3 separate regions of the Homo sapiens genome follow, and all the other regions are linked to region 3. The links are contacts of gene promoters, found by promoter capture Hi-C in human tissues and cell types (Jung and others, 2019). All regions are on one chromosome and are shown on one strand. The core of a region is centred on a gene start or on the middle of the fragment in contact, and the rest is flanking DNA. Distances in the headings are between cores, read along the strand shown.

Region 1 (4,172 bases), core at 1,121-3,620, 100 kb before region 3:
CAGCCCCGGAGCTGGAAGCTGCTTCAGGGCTCACCCGGAACAGCAGACTCAACCTGGACCCATCCAGGCATCTCCTGGGAGTTTCACCCAATTGCTTCTGCCTGGCACCAGCTCAGAGGTTCTGACAGAATTGGCCTGGGGTGAGACCTGGCATCCATGGGATTTTTACAAGCTTCCAGGTGATTCTACAGGGAAGCCAAGGTGAGAACCCCTGTCCTAGAACCAGGTCTGATCAGGGGCCGGTGGGGAACTGTGGGTGGAGAACATTAGTGCTTCCAGAGCCTCAGGGTTGGTTTTGAAAGGAACGTAACACATTTTTTTTTCTCACAAAGACATATAGAGAGAGACTTTTTAAAATAGACATATATATAGAGAGATGTTTTAATAAAGAGAGGTTTGGGTTTATATAAGTAAAAAAGATGATAGAAAATAGAGAATGAGATTAGGCTTCCCCTTGCTCTCAAAAAATGGTTTGAGAGTCTTGGAACTGGTTCCACTCTATGATAGCCATGAGTACTGTTCGCCCAACTTTTGGTTCTCAGCCTTCCAGGCCCCGGTGGGATGAGACTTCCCTGCCCCCACGGTTGAGAGGAGCCATGGGCTTATTCTAGCCAATGAATGGTGGATGGACGTGACTCGTGTCTCTTCCAGGCTGGAGCATTTAATTGTCCAGGTGAGATACTCAGGGACTCGTCCCTCCAGAGCTGAGAATGGCCATGTTTCCAGAGGGTCTGCAGGAGCAACCTGAGTCTCAGAGCACAGCCACCAGCAGACCTGCTGCACGCATGTGGCGGGGGAAAGAAAGAAAGCCAGCTGTCTGCAGCCACTGAGAGTTTGGGGTGGTTGTTTCTCATGACAAAACCAGCTCACCCTGACTTATACAAAGTCTTTGAGTTATATAGATGGAGAATGAGGCTCTTGGGTCCCTCTATTCTCACAAAGCAATAGCCTAGCTAAATCCATCTAACTAGGGAGCAGAAAAGGGGATGTGCTGGCTTGCACACCCTAGACAGTTGTTCAAGAAGTCAGGACACCAGGCCTGGAGTGATACTTCAGCCATCCTTCTAGGTGAGGGTCTTGAGGCCACACAGACAGAAGTGGCAGAGATGGGACACACATTCGTCTTCTCACTCACAGTCTGGCACTGAGCTGTGGGCTGCTGGGACACCATGCCCCCATACGAGTAGCCTTCCCACTCCTTACCTTGAAGGAAAAGTGTTTTTTGGACAAATACCTGATGGAAACATTACATGGGCCTTGGAATCTGTTAGATCTAGCTTCCTGAAACTCTTGCTAGCTGTGTGACAATATACAAGTTTCTTAACCTCTCTGAGCCTCAGTGCTCTAATTACACTCCCCTCATAGAGTTTCTAAGAGCATCCTGGGGCTGGCACGTGTCAACGCACCCAGTATTTGATAGAGTTTGTTAAACGTTGGTTATCCTCTCTCCCTATCGCACCTCAAATGGTAAGGGCTGCCTGCCAGCTTCCATATCCCCAGCAGTGCCCTGAGTTGTTCAGATGTTCATCCATCTCCCACAGAACTCAGGTTCCTTTGGAGGAAGCCACATCAAGTCCTGCTCCAAGCTTAAGCCAGTCAGCACATTCCATGCTCTGCCCCATTGCCAGGGTTCAGGAGTATGCTCGTGATCTAAGCACCCCCACTCCCAGATACAGCTCAAGATTCTTGCTTGGACTTCTGGGCACTCAGGCTCCTCCGAGAGGGAATCAAACTTACTTCTCTCCATGTCCTTTCCTCTAGGAGATGCGTCTTTCATAAAACTCTCATCAACACTGTTCAGACATGTCCCACCCCAGCAGGGGACAGCCTGGGCTCAAGCTGGGATCCCTACTTTATTTATTTTCTGCTAATTAAACTTCCTAATATACTCCACACTAAGTGTGCTTGCAAGGCAGGGGGTGTGGGATAAGCGGCCCTGCCTGGCTGGGAGAGGGGGCAGCTCCCTGCTGTACTATGTATTAATAAAGAGACACATGCATGGCAGGGCTTGTCTGGGCCTTGGTGGCAGCTTAGGACAGAAGGCACGTGACAGTCAGGGGTTCAAACAACCCAGGGAGAACACTGCTTCAGGGAAGACAGCTCAGCATCTTCCTGGCAAAGATAATGACATTGATAATACTCTCCAAAGAATTTCAGGATTTTGAGCAATCAGAAAAGCAACACAGAAATTCATGTCATCAAAACGATATGGCTCTATTGGACACTTAAGACATTTATTGGAGGCTCAACAACATAATCCTGCTGGTTGGTTTTACTTCATTGATTTTCCGTTGTGTCTGATTACATTGCTAATGCTGATGGTGGATGAGCTACGGCTCTTTTCCTGCCTGTCCTGAGGTTTATCCACCAATGTTTCAGTTCTGTTTTAAGATATTGTCCTAAGCCCCCAGCATCGCATGCATGCTGTTTTTTTGTTTTGTTTTGTTTTGTTTTTTACAAAGAGTTCATAGCCCGTGGAAGACTCTCCTCCATCACACACTTAGGTTCCCTCCACACCAGGCCTGGAAGGAGTCTAGCTTCTGGGGACTGTACATATGCTGTGGACCATGCAGAACCTGGAGAGGCGGTGACCCCTTCTAGAAGTGATCTGCCTGAATCCTTCCCTCTGGAGGAGGCATTTATTAAATGCCAGGTTCCTGAAAGGCTCTGAGATGGGCACTCCCTCTCCTGAGTCGTCCCTTCCATTACTGCTTTCCTATTTCTGGCCAGGGTTCCCTGGCCCCTCCTCCCTGCTCCCATGGGACCCCAGTTCATCCCCATCTTTGCTCAATTGCCCTGCACTGTAGTAATCCATTGGCACTCTTGTCTTCTCCAGGAGAAATAGTTGGAGGAGAAGTTTATAGGGTTTCCTGGGCCAGGGCTGGTCTACAGTCACTGGACAGCAGGAAACGACCCTTCGGGGCCTAGGAGGGCCAAGGCTGGTGGGCAGGTACAGGGGGAGCCAGCACTGCTGTCCACCACTGTGCAGCCTGGAGGCTGTTTCCCATGACCCTGCTGATGGGACCCAAGGCACCCCAGGCCACCCACTCCCCTGCCCCCAGCAGGGTGTCAGCTCCCCGGCTTCCCTGCATGCCTGCCTGACATGGACAGTGCACCTTCGGGCCACACTTGCCCTGCTAGCGAGCCTCCAGTGAACTGGGAATTCCACAGAGTGTAGAGGACTCGCCCCAGCACTGTGCTGAGAGGCTTCACCAAACTGTAGCCTGGCTTCCACCTGCACTAAGCTGCATCCCCAGAGGCGACCCCAGCCCTGGCTGAGTCTTGGCTCAAGACTTTGCAATGCAGCCAAATCACAAAATGCACCTCGTCCAGCCCACCCCGCTAAACCATTTTCAGTAGTTCTCCCCTCACCGTTCTGGAACTTTCCATTTCCACGTGGCCCCCACGTTCTGTTTTCATTTCTCCTTCAGTCCCTTTTTGTTCCCTTTCTGTTCTCTCTTTGAAGACCTCAGTCACCGTTTTCTGAGTTGGGGTTGAGCTTGGTCGGTACTGGAATCTCTTTCCGCTGCTGCAGGAGTCTGAAGGAATCAGTCTTGCCGCCTGTAACACATGTCCAGCGCTGCTTTTTCTCTGATGAGTGTCTTAGTCAGTTTGGGCTGTTAAAACAAATGGCTTAGGCAACACACGTTTCTGTCTCACAGTTCTGGAAGCTGGAAGTCTGAGATCAAGGTGTTGGCAGATTCGGTACCCGGTGAGGACCTGCTTCCTGGTTCGCGGGTAGAACACTTCTTGCTGTGTCCTCACAAGGTGCAGAGAGAGAGGGGGGTCTGGTGTCTCTTCCTGTAAGGGCACTGATCCCATCATGGGGGCCTTACAATCGCGACCTCATCTAAACCTCCCGAAACCTCATCTAAATCTCACCTCCATACTATCACATTGGGGATTAAGGCTTTAACATGTGGATTTCAGGGGACAAAGGACAAAAGCATTCAGTCCATGGCACATGCTCAGTGCCTCGACTCTTGCAAGTGCCACACCACAGCCTCTCTGGGGCTGTGTCCTGGAGGCGTGTGCCATGGGCCCTGTGTGCCATGGGCAAGGCGCACAGCATCCTCCCGGCCACCCCACCAGCGAGTGAGCTCCTGGCACCCTGGCTCTCTCTGGTCACCCATCTACCAGTCTTGGTGCTCCTGTGCACTAGAGGACCAGCT
Region 2 (4,100 bases), core at 1,291-3,790, 71 kb before region 3:
AGTGGAACAGAATAAAATCCAGAAATAGACTGAAAACATTCAGGAAAACAGTATAAAATAAAGGGGACATTTCAAATCAATGGAGAAAAGATTAGTTATCTCAGAAATGAATGGGACGATTGAGTAGACTGGGAAAGAGTAAAACTGGAGCTCTACACACACCAAAATACATTCCAGATGGGGCTAAGATTTTATATATCTATATATGTTTAAATAAAGCCATGAAAGAACTAGAGCAAACATGAGAGATTTATTTTTATAATCCCAGACGGTGGCAATCTTTCCAAGTGTGGCACAAAAGTCAGAAATCATTAAAAAAAGACTGATAAATCCAACTACACAAAGTTAGACATTTCTTTATGGCAAAAAATGCTATCAAAAAGTCAAGAGATCAATGATAATGGGGGAAACATTTGTAACACATACAATAAGCTGTCCAATTTTTTAATAGTCAAAGACTTTAACATTAAGAAACAGACCAGCTGGCTGGGCATGGTGGCTCGAGGCTGGGGGATCACTTGAGGTCAGGAGTTCAAGATCAGTCTGGCCAACATGGCAAAACCCCGTCTCTACCAAAAATACAAAAATTAGCTGGGCATGGTGGGGCATGGTGGTGCATGCCAGTAATCCCAGCTACTCAGGAGGTTCTTCTGGCTTCTCAGCTTGCAGACAGCCTATTGTGGGACCTTATGATTGTGTGAGTTAATACTTAATAAACTCCTGTTTATATTATGTGTGTGTGTGTGTATATATATGTGTGTGTGTGTGTGTGTGTATACACACATATACTGGAATATATGTATATACATATATACATATATACACATACATATATATACACATATACATATATACACATATATATACACATATACATATATACATATATACACGTATACATATATACATATATACACATATACATAAATACATATATACACATATATATACATATACTATATATATACATATACATATATTCATTCCATTAGTTCTGTCCCTCTAGAGAACCCTGATGAATACAGTGGGCTACACACCTATTGGAATGGCCAAAACCCAGAACACTGACAACACCAAATGCTGGTAAGGATGTGGCGTTTTTTATCCGCATTCATTGCTGATGGTAATGCAAAATAGTGCAGCCAGTTTGGAACACAGTTTGGCAGCTCTTTACAAAACGGCGTGTACTCTTACCATACGATCCAGAAACTGTATTCCTAGGTATCTACCCAAAGGAGTTGAAAACTTGTAACCACACAAAAACTTGCACACAGATGCTCATAGCAAGCTTTATTTATTATTGCCCAAACTTGGAAGCAAACAAGATGTCCATCAGTAGGTGAATGGATAAATAAACTGTGGTGTATCCACACAGTAGAATATTATTCAGTGCTAAAAAGAAATGAGCTATCAAGACATGAAAAGACATGGAGGAAACTGAAATGCATATGACTGAGTGAAAGAAGCCCTTATGAAAAGCTACATACTGTATGACTCTAACTATGTGACATTCTGAAAAAGGCAAAACTATGGTGAAAACATCAGTGGTTGCCAGCAGTTGAGACGGGTGGGGGGAAGATAACCAGGTAGAGCATAGAGGACTTTAAGGGCAGCGAAAATGCTCTGTATATTACTACGATGGTGGATACATGTCATTATACAGCAGGTCCTTGGATGACACTATCTCATTCAACATCATTTTGCTATAAAGTTGATGAGAAAAAAAAGTCAATTCCTAGCCAGGCCACTGTCTCTGTGGAGGGTGTGCGTTCTCCCCATGTCTGTGTGGGTTTCCTCTGGGTCCTCCAGTTTCCTCCCACATCCCAAAGCTATGCACGGTAGGTGAACTGGCATGTCTACATGGTCCCAGTGTGAGCGAGTGTGGAAGTGGGTGAGTGTGCCCTATGATGGAAGAGGACCCTGTCCAGGGTTGGTGTCTGCCTTGACCCTGTGCCTCTGGGATGGGCTCTGCCATCCACAGCTCTGAAGTGGAATAAGCCAGTCAATAATATTCTCGCTTGTTTTTTGTTGTTGTTGTTGTTTGTTTGTTTTTGTGACAGAGTCTCACTCTGTTGCCCAGGCTAAAGTGCAGTGGCACTAACTCGGCTCACTGCAACCTCCACCTCCAGGGTTCAAGTGATTCCTGTGTCTCAGCCTACTGAGTAGCTGGGACTACAGGCATGCGCCACCATGCCCAGCTAATTTTTGTATTTTTAGTAGAATCAGGATTTTGCCACGTTGGCCAGGCTGGTCTTGAACTCTTGACCTCAGGTGATCTGCCTGCCTCAGCCTCCCAAAGTGCTGGGATTACAGGCGTGAGCCACCGTGCTCAGCTTTCACTTGTTTGTATTAATCTTTCCTAAATGTATGTATGGCTCACATTTATTTCAATGTTTAGTATTAGAAGTGTTTGAGGTCTTTGTAAGTTTGGTGATGTTTTGTGACCAGAAACAGGCCATAGGAACTTAACTCTTGTTTATATTAATTAGCTTATGGTAAAATTGGATAAATGTTTTATAAGAGACATGAAAGGGCATACAGACACACAGGAGAGAAGGCCACGTGAAGATGGAGGTGGAGGAGACAGTGATGCAGCCACAAGCCAAGGGATGCAAGCGGCCACCTGCAGTTGAGAGAGGCAGGAAGGATCCTCAGAAGGCATGGAGCCTACGAGGAAGCCTGGCCCTGCTGGTACCTTAATTTTGGACTTCCAGCCTCCAGAACCATGAGAGATTACATTTCTGTTGTTTGAAGCCACTGATTTTTGTGGTCATTGGTTATGGCAGCCACAGGAAATAAGATAATCACCCACTTAATTTTCCTAGAAAAGCTGTGTTTTGAAAGTCCTCTTGAAGCCTGGGTTCCTCTCTCTGCATCTCCCAGTTTTCCCTCAAAGCTTGTGGATTCTCCATTCCTCACATTAACTCAGGCCTTTCATTGCCAAGTGACCCCGAGTCCTGCCTTCGCGGGTGCTGGGGGAGCCTTCCTGACCCACTGGAAGTGGACCTGCCCATCTCCTTGCTGTGAAACTGCATGAGGGGGCTTGTGTCTGAGGATTGTCTGGCGTGAGGGGAGAGACACCACGTGGGGACAGAGGAGTGGATGAGCAGGCCGGGGCATGACGGGGCCGTGACAGGGACCTGGCCTTCCATTCTGTGGAAGCCTGAGACAAGCAGCAACTTCTCTCATTCCTCCTCTCTATGACAAGACAGGAACTGGGACACTCACCTTACTACCCTAATTCGCTGAGCCTCGGAAGAAAAGCAGCTTAGATTTTTAATCCCATCCAAGATGGAGGCCCTCCTGCTCCTGCTGCCTTGTTCTCACCCCCTTTCGTGATGTGCGAGGCCATCGGAAGGTGTGGAATTTCTCCACTGATTCCTCTCATTGTCCCTTTCTCCCTACTCCTGGGGAGGCTGCAATGGTGACCTCATCCACCTTCAGAGGCAGGTGCTGGAGGAGGAAAGGATGTGGGAGTTCAAGCCGGCTGCAGAGGCCCAAGAGCCCAGATGGTGTCCTTCCAGCAAACTGGAGAGGCACTCCTCCTACCAGGCAGCCACTGCCCCACTCCAGGGCCCCTGGCTCAGCTAGGGAAGTGGGGCTGGGTTTCACCCCCTGCTCATCCCCTAAGGCCCAGTGCTGGACTCAGTGCAGCACCTGCCCAGCCATCTCTAGCAGCGGCATAAAGCATAAAATCAAGGCCAATGTTACGTGCTGCCTTGACATGTGGTAAAATGTGAAGGGCCTCAAGTGGCCTAAATGCAAGCTCCTGTCCCACCTCTGCTCCCATAAATAGGGTCTCCCAGCTGGGCAACCCTTCTCATCCCAGGGACCAGGTACCACCCCTGTTTGTTGCCAAGTAGCAGGCTTCAGTTCCCTGCCAGTCTGCGGAATTATTTAACAACCTCATGAAGAAACCAGGGGCCACTCCACCCTCTGTATTAGCCTGTTCTCAGGCAGCTAATAAAGATACCCAAGACTGGGTAATTTATAAAGAAAAGAAGTTTAATTGACTCACAGTTCCACATGGCTTGGGAGGCCTCAGAAAACCTACAATCATGGTAGAAGGGGAGGCAAACATGTCCTCCTTCACGTGGCAG
Region 3 (4,225 bases), core at 129-2,628:
GGGAGGCACTAGGCCATGCCCTGGCCTGAGGCCTTCTCTCTCCCTCTTTGCCCTGTGTCTCTGCAGGGAAGCCCGGCCCTGCCCCTGGGAGGGTGGGGGCAGACGTGTGGAGAGTGGGTGTACAAGGCCAGGGTTTGCCAGGCCCAGGACAGCCTGGCACCTGTCAATGGATGAGCGCCTCTCCCTTAGCCTGATGTCAGGGTGGGCATGAGGGTGGGAGCAGAGGGTGCCTAACTGAGGAAAGGGTCTGTGCAACCCCCTTCTCCTACCAGTTCTCGTTTCTGAAGTCTCCTCAAGCACACTGCGGTGTCCACACCATTGGCAGCAGGCTCCTTCTCTTCAGGTGGTCTTAGGAACTTCTCAGAACTTTTTGAGTTATCCTTCTGGTCTCTTCCTCCTGAGCACGGTTCTCCTGGTTGAGCTCCAGGCCATGCCATTCAACGCCCTCCAGGACAGGCCGAAGGGCTTGTCTGTTTGGTGGTTGCTAAGGTTTGAAAAAAGCCAGCTGGAAACTTAATCCCCAAAGCAACAGTGTTGGGAGGTGGGACCTAATGGGAGGTGTTTAGTCATGAGGGCTCCACCCTTATGAATGGATTCTCTCTCTCTTGTTCTCTCTCTCTCTCTTCCCGCCCCGCCCACCCCTCCTTCCCCAACCTTGTGATACCTTCCACCATGTCATGGCAAGAAGGCCCTTGCCAGATGTGGCCCCTCCATCCTGGGTTCCCAGTCTCCAGAACCATGAGCCAAATGCATTTCTGTCTGTTACAAATTATGTACGGTGTGGTTTTCTGTGATGAACACAGTGCTGTACCAGGGCCCTCTTGCCAAGACAGCCAGCTTATAGGAGCCTGCATGTGAGGCCCGGACGTCCTACAGAGCAGCAGTTAGAGGTCTGGCCTTCTGGATAGGCACTGCCCTGCCCTGCACACAGGACCTTGGTGGGGCATGATGGGGCTCTTCACCACGCTGCCCTCATTTTAGGAGGTGGGCAACCCTTTCTCCCCCTTCTCCATGTGCTTCTGCAGTTGGAAGAAGTGAGGGGGGTTCAGACACACTTAAGCTGAGCTTAGAGCAAAGCATGTCCCTCAAGGTGACCTTGCCGCATGGCCTGAACCTAGAATTCCCCTGACCAGGGTGGACAGCCATCACCATGGGCCTTTCTGCCTGGCCTAGTATGGCTCTCCTTCGAACTCACCTAGACCCTTGCATCAAAGGACTCGGGGACTCTGCTGCAGTCATCCTAGCACGGTCGAGAGGAGTAGGAAGGTGCCCAGCGGCTCAGCCTTTAAGGAGGTCTATTGGTCACCATTGCTTCTGCCTTCTTGAGAACCATCACCCTCGGAGGATCCGGTAGTGTATCCCAGTCAAGTGTCAAATGCGTTGTTCCCTGGAGAGGAAGGCTTATTTCCAGAAAGTACTCTGACGTTTTGTAATTTGTGATTTCTATCACTGGCTCAGTGGCCTACCCACTGCTCAGCTCATGTGGCATGACCAGGCTGGGGCGTCGGGTCATCTTGTTCTCTGGGTGTGTGGCAACACTGGTTTATGGCGTAATTTCCTTCCTGAGAAGAAATTCAGTAATTTCTAATATTCAGGGCTTTAGGTAGAGGCCTGAAAATCACTCTCCATGCCTCTTTCAGTATTTTATATATAGTTGTCTCTTGGTATCCATGGGGTTTGGTTCCAGAATCCCCTGCAGATACCAAAATTTGCGAATGTTCAAGTCCTTTATATATAGTGGCATAGTATTTGCATATAACCTATGCATATCAGCCAATCATAGATGGTGATTTAAATCATCTCTTGATTACTTCTAACACCTAATACTATGTAAATGCTTTGTAAGTAGTTGTTACCTGGCATTTTTTTATTTGTTTTATTTTTGTTGTTGTTTCATTAATTTTATTTTATTTTTGGAATATTTTCAGTCCATTGTTGGTTGAATCCACAGATGCAGAAGCCTTAGACACAGAGGGCCGACCACACCTATGTATGCTGTTCTTAAAGTAGCAACATATTTGTTCTGAACATAGAAGAAATTAGTCGTCTATTAGACTTTAAGGGAGTAAATATGGTCCAAGTTGATTTTTAAATTTAGCAAATAGTCATAGACATATCAGTGTCTTACAGAAAATATTTATTGGAATGCTCACTCTCTCATTTGGGATACTGCTTTGCCTTGCTGTGTCTTAAGAATGTCATCAGAGCATCACACACTTGAAAAACGTTTTTAAAAGGATATGATGATAATTAAGACCTTCTCCCCAACCCCTGCCCATTATCCAAGATCAATGTTTTTTTCCTTTATCCTGATTTTAAAATCAAGTACACTTTATTGAGGCATACTTTACATGAAGCAAAATGTACCCTTTCTAAATATGATAAGTTTGATGAGTTTTCAACAGATGTATACAGCTGTTACCATGACTGTGTCTTTACCCAGGTTCTTGCATTGCTCAATCCAGATACAGAATGTCTCCATCACCCTGACAAGTTCCTTTGTGCCGCACCCTCTAGCCAATCATCTGTTTTGAGGAGAGTTTTAAAACAAAGGTTTTTGTTCTTTTTCACTGATGACCATAACCTACCACAGACAGGGTCTCTCTCTCTCTCTCTCTCTCTTTTTCCCTGTTCTTGCGCCAGCTGCCTGACAATTTGTGGGATTAAAGCTCTAAGCTGCTTACTGGCTCTTCTGACTAGGGAGAGGGAGCAAGCCTCATTATTTTTCTATTCTTTTCAGTGACTGCTCACTCCTCTTCCTCCAAAATCCCTATCCATCCATCCATCCATCCATCCATCCATCCATCCATCCATCCATCCAACTTTCCATCTACCCATCTATCCTTCCATCTATCCAATCCACTTGCGTGTTGAACGTCTACTATGAGCCATTGGCTACCAGGAATCCCACTTCCACCCAAATTATGTTTCAACAGGGAAGACAAACAATTTAACAATTACGATAAAAAAGAAAATATGCCATACAATGGAAAAGAAGGGGGCATGATGGGAGACCCAGCGGGAGTAGCTGGCAACGATTCTTAGGGGGAAGAGACATTCCTAATAGACACCTGCAGGAGAAATATTAAAGAGTCAATCATTTCAGTAGCGCTTATTGTGACCAATAATGCAAGAAGTTTCTGGGTTCCCAGGCTGATGGGTTTGAAAGTCACTGCATCATGAATGTGCCCAGGACCCACACGTTGTTTTGTAAGAGAGGGGTTCAGTAAAATGTGAAATGACCGACATTCAACAGGCAGAACTGTGCAGAATGCACGCTTTGCCACTGATTGAAAGTGTTTCTTCAGTAGGTTTTGATAGAATATATTACTAATCTGGTAAGAAACAGCTTAGGGCCACTCAAGAAAAGAAAAGCAGCCCCTAGAAACATGTTCTGTGGCTGGGCACAGAGGTAGCTGCTGGAATTTGAACAGGGGTGAGCAGGACCTCGTGGACCTCATTGTGGGGTTAGCAGGGCTGGGCTGGGACAATGAGATCATTTTCTAGGCAGAGAAAAGACAACATGGTAAGTTAAAAACACTGAAAAGTCTGCGCTGCCAGAGTACAAATGTCAGCCAGGAGGGCCCTGACACTCTTGAAAGAGGGATTTGAGCAGTGGCCACTGCATCTACTTGGCACTCGTTCGCTGTGTAGAAGGGTCACCGAGTCCCTCATCAGAATCCTGAAAGAAGGAGAAACGGTGGGCACAGGCAGCACACCTCAATCACTTGTGAATAATTTCCTTCTGTCTTTCATAAACATAGCTATGATTGAAATGACCTTTCACGAACAGCAGGGAAGGATTGTGGAAGAAAATGAGGTATGTGAGAAGCAAATCCATCTACCTGATTGCCATGTAACTTTCGGTGAGTCACGGAGTGAGAATTTCAGATGTGAATTAAGGATTGCCAAGAGTGGTGATATACTTGAAAAGTTTCCTCCACGTTCTACTCCCTGTTCTACTTTAGAATCAGGAGGCCAGAGAGGCAGGAGGGAAGAGTACTTGTTATTCATAGTGGACCTTCTTCCTGAATAATTTTTAGGGTAATTATGTATGCAGCTTCCACCTGAGTCACTGACCTTTGGGTGAATGTTACTGGATATGTACCTATGATACCCAGGCAAACTTTCTGCGGGTTCTACGGGCACTGTGAAGTGTGACAGACTTTGGCTGCGCGTTCACTTTTGATCATAACACGTCCATAGAGTGCTTTTAATCTCCTGC

What was found. Contacts are between HindIII fragments. The study calls those that stand out against the background at their distance.
Region 1: a fragment that was not itself captured here is called in contact with the fragment with the promoter of KCNE1 in region 3 in 5 of the 25 tissues and cell types used here (dorsolateral prefrontal cortex, heart right ventricle, lymphoblastoid cells and 2 more).
Region 2: a contact is called between a fragment that was not itself captured here and the fragment with the promoter of KCNE1 in region 3, in 8 of the 25 tissues and cell types used here (IMR-90 fibroblasts, adrenal gland, aorta and 5 more).

What each region holds. Positions count from the first base shown.
Region 1 is chr21:34,407,748-34,411,919 of GRCh38, forward strand. It overlaps LOC105372793 (salivary glue protein Sgs-3), which reads left to right. Exons shown (of 6, transcript XR_001755015.2): 2 at 1-201; 3 at 543-673. Among named protein-coding and RNA genes, the nearest start is that of C21orf140, 8.8 kb to the left of the region's middle. The HindIII fragment of the contact is 5,549 bases long and covers 1-4,172 here.
Region 2 is chr21:34,438,700-34,442,799 of GRCh38, forward strand. No RefSeq gene overlaps it. Among named protein-coding and RNA genes, the nearest start is that of SMIM34, 17 kb to the left of the region's middle. The HindIII fragment of the contact is 5,928 bases long and covers 1-4,100 here.
Region 3 is chr21:34,510,832-34,515,056 of GRCh38, forward strand. KCNE1 (potassium voltage-gated channel subfamily E regulatory subunit 1) reads right to left here and starts at 1,379. Exons shown (of 4, transcript NM_000219.6): 1 at 1,196-1,379; 2 at 270-484. The HindIII fragment of the contact is 8,709 bases long and covers 1-4,225 here.